Linked DNA regions of Homo sapiens: regions 1, 2, 3 and 5 are each linked to region 4. Evidence: promoter capture Hi-C in 16 types of primary human blood cells and fetal thymus (Javierre and others, 2016). All regions are on one chromosome and are shown on one strand. Each heading gives the region's core, a stretch centred on a gene start or on the middle of the fragment in contact. The rest is flanking DNA. Distances are from core to core; before and after follow the strand shown. Region 1 has its middle 15 kb from the start of OR2AG2. Region 2 overlaps DNHD1 (dynein heavy chain domain 1). Region 3 overlaps DNHD1 (dynein heavy chain domain 1). Region 4 holds the start of DCHS1 (dachsous cadherin-related 1). Region 5 overlaps DNHD1 (dynein heavy chain domain 1).

Region 1 (2,961 bases), core at 39-2,538, 100 kb before region 4:
TGGTGTGAGCAGGCCGTTTTCTTCTAGTCTCTCTCCCACTGATCTTCCACATCTCAAGCTTTCCAGACTAAACACCTGGAGGTGCAGTGAACAGAGCACAGGATAAGGCTTTGACCTTATCAGACAACAAAAGTGAAGATGAAGATGTAGGTAAAAGTGTCATAATTAAAGCATCTTCTTACTCTACCGGAGACATTCATTTGTCTGGAAGGAGTTAGAATTCTTTATGAAAGAAAAGTAGAGAGAAATAAGACTGAGGTAATATTAGTCTTTTGACATCCAAATGGATTAATTATGCCATGCATCAACTTTAGGACTCAGTCACAGAAATGTAGCACATCACAGTCAAGTAGAGAGAGCCCCTGGGGTTTAACTTTACAAAGATGCCTTGAGTTTTTATGTGATTTAGATACTGAATTGAAACCTGGTGGGCTCTTATAGGCCTCCATAGCCGAATGAGTTGACTTGACAATAACAGAGTGTGGAATGCTGGACCAACTTGTAGGCTGGAGGATGTGGCAATCAACTCAGGGTTATGCAGACAGCAAAATTTTTCTTACAGCATTAGCAACTCAGAAACATTGTCCCTGTAGAAAGTGTAGACCCCATGTGAACTAGCCAGTTCAGCAGTGGTGTCCTGCAGAATGCTGAACAACTAGGTTCATAAAAAACAGTGCTCGAGAGACCAGCAGATGGAGCTGCTGCAACAGAAAAACAAGGCTGAGGCTAGAGTTCCTTCTCAGCACCAGAAGCTTGAATAAACCACACTCTTTCCACCACACATTGGGATGAGAAGCAGGGGAAGGCTTTCTTAGTAATCAAGCATCATTTTATCCAACAGAGAATGAATAATTCCTAAAAATATACTAAATTGTCAGGTTAGACTAAATGAAAATTAGATTGAACTATTAGTTTGGTTTGTTGTTTTTTTCTCCTGCTAACCAGTGGATGGGGATTTGAGACGAATATCAAATTATAGACTAAAATAAAGAGAGTAAAATGTTTCTGTACGTTATCTGAGTCATAGTATAAGCCTTAGGATCACCCCCTATTGCCCTTCTGAAGTCATTGATATTTCTCCTTGGATAAGGTTTTCAAAAGAGGAAAGAGAATCACAGAAAGAGAAAGAGTGAGAGATCACAGAAGGGCATATTAATTTACCTTTTTTTCTTCCATTCTCTCTTTCCTGTTTCTGTTTCCTATCTGTCTTTGAGTTTGGGAAGTTGGAGAGAATTTGAACTTGAATCCATAGACCTATTTCTGCTATGTAATTCTTCCTTCTCTTTGTTTTAGAGAATGCTCTTCAGGCAGGAAAGTTTCTCATGAATACCTCCATTCAGCAAACTTTACTAAAGATAAGTGTGAGACCCTGTAATAAACATAGGATATAAAAAAGAGGGAGAAGAGAAACCTGGCTATGGCCCTCACACAGGGAGCAGGGGAAATAGAGAAATCGGCATTTAAACAAGTGATTGCTGCAACAACTATAGTTGAAGAGAAAGGAGCTGAGATTAATTTTTATATTACCTATTTCAAGGCTCATGTTTGTGAAGATATCCCTGACATCCAATCAGTTATGTCTTCATCTTTTGTCAATGTTTACACCTTGCATTTCCATGCTACTTATATTTTATTCTGTCTTCTGTTCACATTCTTCTGGTATATAAAGGAATTTTATTTTATTTTATTTTATTTTTTAATTTGTATATATATATATATACACATAGTAGGTGTATATATTTATGGGGTACATGAGATATTTTAATGCAGGAACACATGATAATCACATCAGAGTAAATGGGGTACCCATCACCTCAAGCTTTCATATTTATTTGTGTTAGAAACATTCCCATTATACCGTTCGCATTCTTTCCACCAGTTTTTGCACATCCTTGGAAGAAAATCTATGTCTAATCTACTCCCTAAAGCTCTGGGTCCTGGCAAAATTGTAGACACATAGGAAATGAGTGTGAAATAATCTCACTCTCAAGCTGTGCAAAAACCTATGCTCAAAGATGTTAATTGCCGTGCTATTTATAATAGTGAAAATGTAGGAACCTGGTTGGCTGTCAGTAGTGACCTGGTTAATTACATACAAAGGGATATTATGTAGGCTTTAAAGTTAATTATTAAACTATACCAATATTTGTTGACCTAGAAAGATATCCCTAGTAGATTTTGAGTGAAAATGAGATTATAGGAGAGTATATATACTATACATTGCCATAAATGCAAAATTATACATATTTAACTATGTGTCTATATGCCTGAAAGAATTGCTATTAAAATGTTCACAGAAGGTAATTTGAATGGTGGGATTTTGTGTGCTTTTTTCTTTCTTATGTTTTCCTACATTTTCAAACATTTTTTCAGTGACTACACGTTATTTAAAAAAAAAAACAACAACAAAGATTTTCAAAAATTCCATCAAAATTTGATTCTTTTCTGTTTTCATATTTAAAACTTAAACATCACATTTCATAGTAGCTCTCAATGGGGCAATCCAAATATTTTAAGGACATTTGACAATGTTTAGAGACATTTTTGTTGTCATAACTGTGAGGAGTGCTGCTAGCATCTAGTGAGTAGAGGCCAGAGGTGCTGCTAGACATCCTATAATGCACAGAACAGTTCCCCACAATAAATTATCTGGCCCTAAATGTTAACTGTGCTGGAGTTGGGAAAATCTCAGAATTCAGTATCCTGATCTGCTCTTTATCGCCATCTGTTGGTGAAAGACATGTCTGCAACTTCCACGCAGTTTTAGCCAGAAGCCAAACTTAGGGCCTCGGAAATAAGATGGGATGCCTAAGAATGGTAGCTATGGTTAGCATGGGAGTCAGAAAAACAGCAAATTAATTCGTCACTGTGACTGTCTATGATGCTCTTACTAAGACCAGTAGTTGCTTTGACACTGCCAATCTGTATCTATAAAATGATACATCATGATTTCCATTTTTT
Region 2 (2,788 bases), core at 57-2,556, 83 kb after region 4:
ACATAAACTTAGTTAATAAAGGAACAGCAGGGTTTGAGAGGATTAACTCCAATTTTGAAATAAGTTCTGTAGGTAAAATGCTGTAAAACACCATCACATGCCACAGACAAATTCTTCATGAAAATATGAGTCCATTGATATGGACTCGTATTCACTGTTGTTTTATTTTAAGAAATTGCCACAACCTTCAGCAGTCACCACCCTGATCAGCAGCTATCAATATTAAGGCAAAAAAGATTACTAGCAAAAAGATTACTATTTGCTGAAGGCTCAGATGATTATTAGCATTTTTAGCAATAAAGTATTTTTAAACTAAGGTATGCAATTTTTTTTTTTTTTTTTTTTTTAGACAGGGTCTTGCTCTGTCACCCAGGCTGGAGTACAGTGGCACAATCTCGGCTCGCTGCAACCTCCACCTCCTGGGTTCAAGAGATTCTTCTGCTGCCTCAGTCTCCTGAGTAGCTTGGATTACAGGTGCCCGTCACCACACCTCGCTAATTTTTGTATTTTTAGTAGAGACAGGGTTTCACCATGTTGGCCAGGCTGGTATACCTTGTTTTTTTTTTTAACTTAACATAATGCTATTTCATGCTTAATAGACTACAATATAGTGTAAATGTAACCCATATGCAGTGGGAAACCAAAAAGTTCATGTGACTTGCAATATTCGCCTTATTGTGGTGGTCTGGAACCAAACCCACAATAGCTTCAAGTATGCCTGTATACACTTCTGTTTGCATTTCCTCCCACCACGTAGCTGGTACCTAGCCATAGAGCAAGGGAGCTGAGTTTATTAATACTACGTAAGTTTTGATGCTTGGGGGCAAGGAGTGAAGCTCATATAGGCCTTTGGTTCTGCCATACTCTAACTCAACTTTTGTCGGACAGGCTCGCCCTGGCCTAGCAGGCAGTCATGCAACTAATAATAACAGAAAATATCAAAGCAGCAGAACTCTTGATTCCTTAGCTCCAGCTGCTTGCTCCCTCAAATTTCCCATCTCAGTTAATGACACATGATACACCTAGTTTCTCAAGCTTAAAATCCAAATCACCCTAGATTCTTCCTCTTCCTTTATTCTCCACATCCATTCCATCAGTCCTGCTGGTTTTACCTCCAGAATAGTTCTTAAATCTGTCAGTTCTTCATCTCTATTTAAACCCTTGCCCAAACTCCATTATCCCTTACTTGAATTACTTCAGTTGGGTCCAAATAGATCTTCTACCTTGTCACCCTGGCTTTTCTAGCATCCATCCACCATAGAACAGGCAGAGTGACCTTTGAAAAAATGCAAATTAGATCATATACTCTCCCACCTACTATTTGACAATACATTCTCATTATACTTTTGAAAAATACAAGATCATTACCACGGCCACGTGAGCCACCCCTTTCTATACGTTCCCATCATTTTGGGTCGCTCTGCCCCTCACTCGCCATGCTCTGGCTGCATACGCTGTTTCTTGAACACTTCAAGGTTGTTCCTGCCTCAAGACTTTTGTACCTACTGAGGGCTCTACCTGAATGAATATTCCTTCTAGATCTTTAAATAGCTACTTTCAAATATGCAGAAAGCTTCCTTGACCACTCAGATTATACTAACTGCTCCCGTCTCATCACATACCCTCTTGACGCATCGGTCTATTTTGTTTTCTTTATAGGACTTCAAAATCATCAAAATTATTTATATGTTGGCCTTTTATTGCCTGTTGCCCTACACTAGAATAACCTTATTAGCACATAGAAGAATACCTGGTTCCAAGGAATGCTCAATGAATAATTGTTGAATGAACATAGGACCTTGTATCTTACTTGGCTTTTTTCATATGCATGACTCACTGAGAGAATCCATCGTAGGAGAGGAATGAGTGGTAGGGCAGGATTGAGGCACTGCCAAGAACACCACTAAATGCCTTAAGAAAGAATTTTGAGTGCTAATGTTCTCCTTTCAAACATATCCCTTGTGGATTTAGCACAAGTGCTGAGACCACAGTAGAGAGCGGGGCAAGGATTTAGGATTCTGTGTGTCAGCCACTGCTGGGTCTGCCTAGCTTCTTGGATACATGATTAACACCAAGTCCCACCCCACCCCAACTGTACCCACACTTTCCCCTTCCCGGCTGCCAGGCACATGCCCTCTTCTACCTTCGGTGTGAATATACCTCCTCTTTTCTCAGTTATGCACACTGTACCTTTCTCCTAGTGTGTCACATTCTGCCTTCTTGGTGTGCACACACCCTACTCTACCCCCATATCTCAGAAATCTTTCATGGAATCACTACAACTTTATTTTGGTAGACGGGCTCAAGACAGGGGTGGGCTGCACACATGGACCCTCCTTTGGACACAGGTGTTGGGGGTGAGCTTGGTGGGTAAAGGCAGATGCATCACGATGTTCCTGCTCTGCAGCTTAGCGGTGCCAAGGGGCCCTCCCATGTACACAGGACACGAGTACACAGTCAGGTCGGCTGGGGCTGGCAGGTCACTGGTGCCCGGGGCCTGTGTGCTGATGCTGACGGGAGGCAGAGGGCTGGGTTGGCTGGAAGGACTGTCCTGCAAGGCTCCAGCTATTGGGTCCCACTCCGCATGTAGGACCTGTAGCCCGATCAGCAGCAGCCCTCTCTCTGGAACCGTGGGATTTGGACCATTCTCCACCTGGGGGCGTCAGAAGCTGGTCAGGCAAGGCTAGGAAGCTGGGAGGTGGCAGGTGGGAAGTGGGGGTTAGCGGGTAGGAGGTCGTGGTGAAGCGAGATCGGAGAAGCTAGCAGGGTTACCGGGGGCAAGATCACC
Region 3 (2,782 bases), core at 188-2,687, 100 kb after region 4:
GACAGTTTTAACTTGTCTTTTCTAATTTTAAAAGCTTTTATTTCTTTTTCTTAATTGCGTCGATGTGGTCTCCAGTACAGTGTTGAATAGAAGCAGTGAGTATGTTCTTGCCTTTTAACTGATTTTAGGGGGACAGTATTCAATATTTAACCATTAAGTATGTATTTAGCTGTAAGTATAATAGATGCTTTTCATCAAATTGAGAAAGTTATCTTCTATTCCTAGTTTCCTGGGAGTTATGGAATAGTGTTGGAATTTTGTCAAGTGATTTTTATCTACTAATATTACTTACTCATTTGCTCCTTTATTCTGTTAATGTGAGCTACACTGATTGATTTTTCAATGTTTAGTCAGCTTTGCCTTCCCAGGATAGACTCCGTTTGGTCTTAAGATATTATTCTTTTTGTATGTTGCTGAATTTTATTTAATAATATTTCAGTGAGGATTTATTTTTGCATTTAGGTTTATGAAAGATAACAGTTTATTTCTTTGCTTGAAATGTCTTCATCATGGCTTAGTATTCTCCATTTTCTGAAAAAGTATATATAAGTTGTACTTTTTTTCTAAATATTTGATATAATTCAACTGTATAACCATCTGGGACTGGAAACATTTATTATGCATTCAAACTTTTCTTAGGTATGAGGCTGTTCATTTTCTATTATTTTTCTTCTTTTGTTCAAGCTTTGACAAGTTATGTTTTTGTAAGGCATGTGATATGGTTTGGCTCTGTGTCCCCAACCAAATTTTGTCTTGAATTGTAATCCCCATATGTTGAGGGAGGGACCTGGTGGGAGGTGAGTGGATCACGGGGCCGGCTTCCCCCATGCTGTTCTCATGATAGTGAGCAATTTCTCATAAGTTCTGATGGTACATCTCTTCACCCCACCCCGCCCCCGCCAACTGCTATGTAAGATGTGCCTTGCCTCCCCTTCGCCTTTTGCCACGACTTTAAGTTTCCTGAGGGCTCCCCATCCATGCGGAACTGTGAGTCAATTAAACCTACTTATATATATATATTTTTTGGGACGAAGTTTTGCTCTTGTCACCCAGGCTGGAGTGCAATGGCGTGATCCTGGCTCGTTGCAACCTCTGCCTCCCAGGTTCAAGCGATTCTCCTGCCTCAGCCTCCCAAGTAGTTGGGATTACAGGTGACCCCCACCACACCCAGCTAATTTTTGTATTTTTAGTAGAGATGGGGTTTCACCATGTTGGCCAGGCTGGTCTCAAACTCCTGACCTCAAGGGATCAACCTGCCTCAGCCTCCCAAAGTGCTGGGATTACAGGCGTGAGCCACCATGCCTGGCCTAACCCTCTTTTCTTTATGAATTACCCAGTCTCAAGTAGTTCTTTATTGCAGTGTGAAAACAGACTAATACAGCATGTATCCATTTCACCTAAGTTGCTAAATTTATTAGCATAAAGTTTTTCATAATTTTCCCTTATTATCCATTTTTTAAAACTTTTTTTTTTAAATGAGGGTCCCACTATGCTGCCCAGGCTGGTCTTGAACTCCTGGCCTTAAGAAATCCTCCTGCCTAAGCCTCCCTCCCTAGTAGCTGGGATTACAGGTGCATGCCACCATGCCTGGCTCCCCTTTTTTTTTTTGGAGACGGAGTCTCGCTCTGTCACCAGGCTGGAGTGCAGTGGTGCAAATCTCAGCTCACCGCAACTTCCACCTCCCTGGTTCAAGCAATTCTCCTGCCTCAGCCTCCCGAGTAGCTGTGATTACAGGTACATGCCACCATGCCCAGCTAATTTTTGCATTTTTAGTAGAGACGGGGTTTCACCATGTTGGCCAGGATGGTCTCCATCTCCTGACCTCGTGATCTGCCCTCCTTGGCCTCCCAAAGTGCCGGGATTACAGGCGTGAGCCACAGTGCCCGGCCCTGGCTCCCTTTTTATCCTTTTAAATATCTTTAATAAAACCTCTTTCATTCCTGATATTCAAAATTTATGTTTTCCTTTTCATTTCTTGATTTGTGTTAATAGGCGATTGTCAATTTTATCTTTTTCAAAGAAACAAAATATGGCTTTGTTGATATTCTCCATTGTTTGTATGTTTTTCTATTTCACTGATTTCTGCTCTGTTCTTTATTATTGATTTCCTTTTAATTGCTTTGGGTATAACTTGCTCTTCTTTTTCTAGAGTCTTAAGCTGAAAATTTAGGTCATTGATTCCAAGCTTTTCTCTCTAAGATAGATATTTAAAGCTATAACCTTTAGTTGCATCTCACAAATTTTGATATGTTTTGTTTTCATTATTATTTAGTTCAAAACATTCTCTAATTTCTCTTGTAATTTCTTTTTTGGTACATTATTTAGAAGTGTGTTAATTTTAAAGAATTTGGAAATTCTCTAGGCATCTTATCAATATTTGTATTGTTATGGTCAGATAAAATATTATTTAAAATGTTAATCCTTTGAAATTTGTTGAGACTTATTTTGTAACCCAGCATATGGTCTATCTTGGTGAATGTTTCATGTGCATTTGAAAAGAAGGTGCATTTTGCAGTTGGTGAGTATAATGTTTTGTAAATGTCAGTGTGTTGCTAGTGTTATTCAGATCTTTAATGTCCCTACTTTCTTGCTCCTTGTCTTATCAGTTATTGTGAGAGGCATATTAATTTCTTAATATGATTTCAGATTTACTATGTCTCTTTTGTTTCTATTGGCTTTTTTTCCCTATACTTAAATGTCTATTTTAGGTGTGGACACATTTAAGACTTTTGTCTTTCTGATGAGTTGAATCTTTCAATTATGAGATGTCCTTTTCTATCTC
Region 4 (2,998 bases), core at 14-2,513:
TGATCAAGGACCCCAGTCTCTCCCTCACTCCTCTTCCAAAATCACACTCCCTTCTTCTTCAGCTGAAACTGTGTTCCTTCTCCACAGAAGTTCCTGATTTCTTTGTGCCATTTGTACACATCTCAAGTCCAGAAAACCTGTTTTTCTCACAGTCTACTCGCAGTCCTAAGGAAGAAGGACAGGAGTCAGAACTCTTCCCAGTTCCTTTAAGATTGCTTGCTCTTTGTCTCTGTCTGATTTCCCCTCTCCCCATATTCTCTCCCAAGTTGGTTTTTTGAGCCCCTTCCCACTTCCCTGCCCGGTTTCCTCCTCACTTAATTTTTCTAGGGAGTATATCGTGAGTGGGACCACCATCCCCAAAGCTCTTCTTTCCAATATCTCCCGATCTCTACCCTCAAATTTGGGATAAAGAGAAAGTGGGGGAAAGGGAGCCTGGGGGTGAAGGAGAGAAAAGAGACAGAAATCATGGGATAATGAAAAGTGACTAACAGGGGAGAAGGCCGAGGTTACGATGGAAGAAGGGGAAGAGACAGCGGGTAGTGAAAAGGGCAGGGGTGAGAAAAGGGAATGAGGAGAAGGCGTGAGGAAAAGGGGATGATGAGGTGAGGCGAAAGACACAGGGAGAAGGGGATGGGGAGAAAGGTGGGGAGAAGAGACGGGGAGAAAGGGATAGGAAGAAAAGGATAAAAGGAGAGGTGGGGAAGGAGAATCTGATGTAAAGAGGCTGGAGAGAGATCAAGCAGAAGGGGTAAGGAGAAGAGAAAGGGGAGAAGAGCTGGGGAGAAAATGATGGAGATGGGGCGAGAAGAAGAGGATGGGAGAAAGGCAGAGGGGAATGGAGATGACGGTTGGGAAAAAGAAGGGGCGAGAGGGAGACCAGGGCACTGAGGGAGAAGAGGGGAATAGGGGATGGAAAGAAGATGGAAGAGGAGGAGGTGAGCAGCAGGGAGCGGCGAGAAGGGGAAGAGACGAGAGGGCGTAGAGAACCGAATGGGAGGAGAGGACGGGAGAAGTGACGGGGAGAAGGGAAGGGAACCGGGACGGGGGCGCGGCGCGGCGCTGGGGCCGGATCCGGAGCCGGGGCCTGGGGCCGGGAAGTGGAGGGGCGGAGGGAGGCCGGGCGGGCGCCGGGGGGAAGGGGGGGCGGCGGCGCGGAGCGCGGGTGGGGGCGGGGGCGGGGGCTCCGCGGGCGGAGGGGCGGGGGCTCGGGTTACCGCGCGGAGGGCGGGGGGAGGGGAGGGGAGGGGGCGCGGGGCCGCGGCAGCGGAGCTCGCATCCTCGGCGGGGCGGCTGTGCAGGAGGCGGCGCCCGGGCGTCAGCGGACGGACCGATCGACGGCCAAGGGCGCGCGGACCGACGGCGGCTGCCCGGAGGGGATCGCGGGCCTCGGAGACAGCGACTGCGGACGATGCGCGGCCTCAGGCCCCGCGCGAGCGGGCGCTGCCCGGGGGGCTGACCGCGGCCGGACGGCGCCCCAGCACCGGGCGAGGGAGCCCGCGTCGCGCGGAGGTCAGTGCCCGCGCCCGCCCGGCCCGTCTGGCCGCGCCCGCCCTGCCCGCCGGCCTCCCCTGGGCTGCGGCAGCGGCGGCGGAGCCGGGGGCTTTGTTCTGAGCCGGAGACAATGGGGGAGGGGGGGCCTGGGCCTGCGGGACCCGGGCGGGCGTGAACGTGAGCGTGGGGGCAGGGCCTGGGGGTCTTTGTGTGCGTGTGTCATCGAGTCGGGGAGGGTGGCGGCGGGAGCGTGCGCCGGGGGTGTGGGGTGCGACAGCGTTGTGTTCCAGTGCATCGTCGGAGTGTGTCAGTGCGTGTCACTGGGAGGTTGTGTGTCCCTGGGCGTCTCTCTGGCTGTGTGTGCATGTGCGTGTCACTCTGAGGGTGTGAGGGTCAGAATGACCGTGTGTCATGGTGAGCGAGTCCCTGTGAGGGTGTGTTGCCCGCTCTGTGGGAGCCCATGTGTCAGAATGTGGAGGATGGGTGTGTGACAGAGACCAACTGAGACAGAGACAAAGAAACTGAGTGGGGAGAAGTACAGAGAAGCAGAGGAGAGGCAGGCACAGCCTGAAGTGGATGGAGGGGGGGGTCACCCAGACGTGTTCTGAGTGGGAGATTGGAGCAACTGGGAGTTTGTGTCTGGGATACCCAGCTCAGAATCCCGTGCAGGGGACAGAGCAAGGTCACCGCAGGCGTGGGTCCCACGTGGAGGGGGTGGGGAGAGGGAGGTCTAGAAGCACAATGAACTCAGTGTGGCGGGCTGGGCCCACAGCCACAAGGTCATAGGCCAGAAAAATATTGTCGCTTATGTCAACTTCTCAAATACCCATAGGGACACAGTCATAGCCCTACTCAACCCACAAGAGGACACAGTCCCAGGGAACACACATCCTCAAGAGATACCCTCACAGCCATCATACACTTCCAGGAAGCCCACCCCCAGGAAGCACCCCCAGTCAGAACCAACACACACCTACAGCAGACTCTATCAAGCCAACACACACCTACGGAAAATGCTCTCATGACAACACACACCCACAGGAGAAATGCTGCAACCAACATACTCCCACCGGTTCATTGTCAAGGCCAACACATACCATGGAAGACATTGTTACTGCTAACACTCTCCAGAAACACTGTCACCAGCAACAAACAAGTAGACCAGCACCTCTCAGGAGACATTGTCACTGCAATCCACATCCATCAGAAGCACTGTCACAACTGTCACAGCACATCTTATTAGGTTTACTTCCTTGGAGCTGCCCATACATAGTGGGTGTCCTAGAAGCCTGTCACTAACAGGAGGCTGTGCCACAGTTGCCCTTACCACACAGCCACTTGTACAACCCCCAGGAGACAGTCATGGATGGCATGCACACCACAGGAAGACCTGTCCCAACTTCTGAATAAACTCTGCTTAACTTATCAAGCTCACACCTTCACCCCTTCTCATACGTAGATCTCCCAGGTATACCCTCTTGTTCCCTGAAAACTTCGAGATCTGGAT
Region 5 (2,743 bases), core at 66-2,565, 120 kb after region 4:
CTGAAATTTTCATTTATAAAAGACACCAGTGAAGGTGTGTGATTCCCAAGGCTTGCTTGGGGTCATACAGGACACAGAACCCTGAGTTCCAACTCTTACTTCAGTTGAAGGGTCTATCACAGAGTGATAATGGAGGGTGCAGGGATCCTCAGTACCAGTGAAGATGGCATAGGCGTGGTGCAGTTCACTGAGGTCGCTGACTGTGTTCTGGAACTGACGCTCTAGGGAGACGAGCTGGTGCTCAGTACTCCTCTGATCTTGTGTGGGGTCCATAAAGGGACCGGAGAGGGCCTTCGCAAGCAGGCCTTCCAGCTCTGCCAATGCTGCTGCCATCAGCTGCTGCAGCTTGGGCATAATGGCATGTCGCTTGCTGAGCAGGAACTCTGAAGCCTGGCTTTTCTCAAACTGAAATGCCTCCCACATATCCAGAAGCTGTGGGGCAAGCAGAGGGCAGTGGAGTAGATGTGGTTGTGGGGGAGGAGGGCAGGGAGGGATGGGTGACTCCCCGAATTGCCTTCTCACCGAGATGTCCAGTGCTTCATTCTCAGCACTAAAGAGGCTAAAGTGGTTGCGGATGAGTTCGTGGAGTGCCCGTACGTATTCCATTCGCTCCTCCAGCTCGACGTACTGTTCATTGGCTTCATTCAACTGCAGGAATTACAGCATGAGACCGGCAGCCCCACAACCCCATGTACCTCTTTGGTCCCATCCCCAAGGGGAACTCCCACCTTTTGGAGTGAAGTCTCCAGACCCAGTTGCAGCCTTGTAATCAACTGGAATCAGGGGCAATCTCTCCTGAGGGATCTCTCCAGAGGGATCAAATCTCTCTCTGACCCAGATCTCTCTGGTGAAGGGTCCACTTCTCACCCACCACCCCATTACCTTGATGACAAGGCAACAATTTTCTATCTGACTGTCACAGAGAGCACAACTCTCTCATCACACCAGGGCCTCCCTGTGACATGAGGAACCTGAGGGCCACATGGACAGGGTAAGAATTAGCAAGGGTAGATCTCTTAGGCGAGCACAGTTTAAGAGCATCAAGCTCTGCTGGGGGCTCAGCAGAGACCTGAAGAGAGTGTGCTGAGCTTTTGAGCAGGATGGGCCCTGAATAAACTGGGAAGGATGGATGGGGAGAGCCCACCTTCTGGGTGCACTGTGCAATGGCATGAATATCTGAGTTGATGGTTCGGAAGATATGCATGAAATCTGTGAGCTCTGTCATGAGTTGTTGACTGAGGTTCCAGCACTCATTTTGCACGTGTGCAAGAATGTCCTTCCTTATGCTGTTCAGCTTGGATTCTGGAGACAGGAGAGTAAGGTGTGAGGGGACGCATAAAAAAGAAGGGGTGCTGGGGACAGTGCTGTGGTCCAGAGTGGGAGTAGGCTGAATGGCAGGTCAGACCATGAATTATCTCATTTAATGCTTGTTGAATCCCTGCTCAATGTCCAGTCAGCTGCTATGCACTGGGGACTGTGCTCTATACTGGTAGACGAGAGCAAATGAATGAGACAGAAAGTTTCCCCACCCTGAAAAGCTCACAATATGAGGCAGAGACAGACATACAAATGAGCAATCACAAATCAGTGTGATAAATCCACTGTGAGTGCCTGGAGCCTTCAGCCAGTATAGCTAAGAGGTGGGGGTGCCGGGGGGTATCCTGAGAAGGCTGGGCAAGGCCCCTTCAGAGAAGGGAACACTGGAGTTGGATGTGTTGAGTATTAATTCTCCAAAAAGATGAAACAGTGTGTGCAACAGTATGGAAATGACATGTTTGTGAATAGCAGAGTATCCTAGCAGACATAAAAGTATTCTGGTTTTGGAGTCTTACTGCCCTTGCTCTAGAAGAAGGGGACCAAGAAGGTAGTATGATCTGCCTTTTGTTTTTAAGGATTAAAGTAAAGAAAGTCTCAGGTGGATAAGGGGCTAGAAAGTAATCCTGGAAGCTGCCCTTGGCAGTATGAACAACTTTATTATCTCAGAGGGCAGGGATAACACCCATATGATACCTCATAAAATCTAAGATCCCGTTGTAAGAAGCACCATTATTTTATATACCACTAACAAAGAAAAAAAACTGATGCCATCTAAACTCTAACACATCTTCAATCATGAGACACCTTTAAAGTTCAGAGATGTTAAAATATGCACAGAATAGGAAAAATACAATATAGAAATATGGTACACCAAATAGAGTATAGAGTGCTTTCTACATACCAGACACTATTTCAAGTACTTTAATTATATTTTATCCTCACAAATTCCCTTTGAAGTAAATACTATTATTTTACAGATAAGCAAACTGAAGCTCAGAGAGGTTATGTCACTTGATCAACATCACACAGTGGCAGAGCAAGGATTCAGACTCAGGCAGCATGGCTCCACTTCATTATATTTTAAATATAAACATGTTTATGTTATAAATATAAATGTAAACATAAAAATATATGTTTATAAAAAGTATTTAAAAATATTTTTTATGTTATGTGCAAAGTAAACTGACCGATCCTCTATTAGCATCTCTGCAACTAGTAAGTAAAATAGTGAGTTTGGGGGACAGATAATTGAGACATACTGGGTATGTCACTTTCAGAGACTTGGAGGAAGTAACCAAGATGACTGGGTACTAAGACCTGATAATAAGAAAACCTGCTGAGAGGAAGCCTATTGAGGGACAACCTATATCAAACAGAACATGAAGATCTAAACTCATCCTTTTTCACACTGTCCCTTTGGAACATA

What was found. Contacts are between HindIII fragments. The CHiCAGO score rates a contact against its expected background, and 5 or more counts as called.
Region 1: a fragment that was not itself captured here is called in contact with the fragment with the promoter of DCHS1 in region 4 in 2 of 17 cell types (non-activated CD4 T cells and activated CD4 T cells); the score reaches 7.5 in non-activated CD4 T cells.
Region 2: a contact is called between a fragment that was not itself captured here and the fragment with the promoter of DCHS1 in region 4, in 4 of 17 cell types (non-activated CD4 T cells, total CD8 T cells, naive B cells and 1 more). The highest score is 6.2, in non-activated CD4 T cells.
Region 3: a fragment that was not itself captured here is called in contact with the fragment with the promoter of DCHS1 in region 4 in 4 of 17 cell types (activated CD4 T cells, total CD8 T cells, naive CD4 T cells and 1 more); the score reaches 6.9 in activated CD4 T cells.
Region 5: a fragment that was not itself captured here is called in contact with the fragment with the promoter of DCHS1 in region 4 in 14 of 17 cell types (activated CD4 T cells, total CD8 T cells, megakaryocytes and 11 more); the score reaches 10.7 in activated CD4 T cells.

Annotation. Positions count from the first base shown.
Region 1 is chr11:6,755,305-6,758,265 of GRCh38, reverse strand. No RefSeq gene overlaps it. Among named protein-coding and RNA genes, the nearest start is that of OR2AG2, 15 kb to the left of the region's middle. The HindIII fragment of the contact is 1,067 bases long and covers 755-1,821 here.
Region 2 is chr11:6,571,501-6,574,288 of GRCh38, reverse strand. It overlaps DNHD1 (dynein heavy chain domain 1), which reads right to left. Exons shown (of 43, transcript NM_144666.3): 43 at 2,269-2,653. The coding sequence ends at 2,303. Among named protein-coding and RNA genes, the nearest start is that of RRP8, 31 kb to the left of the region's middle. RefSeq lists an enhancer at 2,677-2,788. The HindIII fragment of the contact is 538 bases long and covers 1,038-1,575 here.
Region 3 is chr11:6,550,768-6,553,549 of GRCh38, reverse strand. All of the region lies in intron 24 of DNHD1 (dynein heavy chain domain 1), which reads right to left. Among named protein-coding and RNA genes, the nearest start is that of RRP8, 51 kb to the left of the region's middle. The HindIII fragment of the contact is 1,501 bases long and covers 687-2,187 here.
Region 4 is chr11:6,654,074-6,657,071 of GRCh38, reverse strand. DCHS1 (dachsous cadherin-related 1) reads left to right here and starts at 1,263. Exons shown (of 21, transcript NM_003737.4): 1 at 1,263-1,509. The HindIII fragment of the contact is 4,247 bases long and covers 1-2,998 here.
Region 5 is chr11:6,531,586-6,534,328 of GRCh38, reverse strand. It overlaps DNHD1 (dynein heavy chain domain 1), which reads right to left. Exons shown (of 43, transcript NM_144666.3): 13 at 1,145-1,302; 14 at 156-648. Among named protein-coding and RNA genes, the nearest start is that of DNHD1, 36 kb to the right of the region's middle. The HindIII fragment of the contact is 4,335 bases long and covers 1-2,743 here.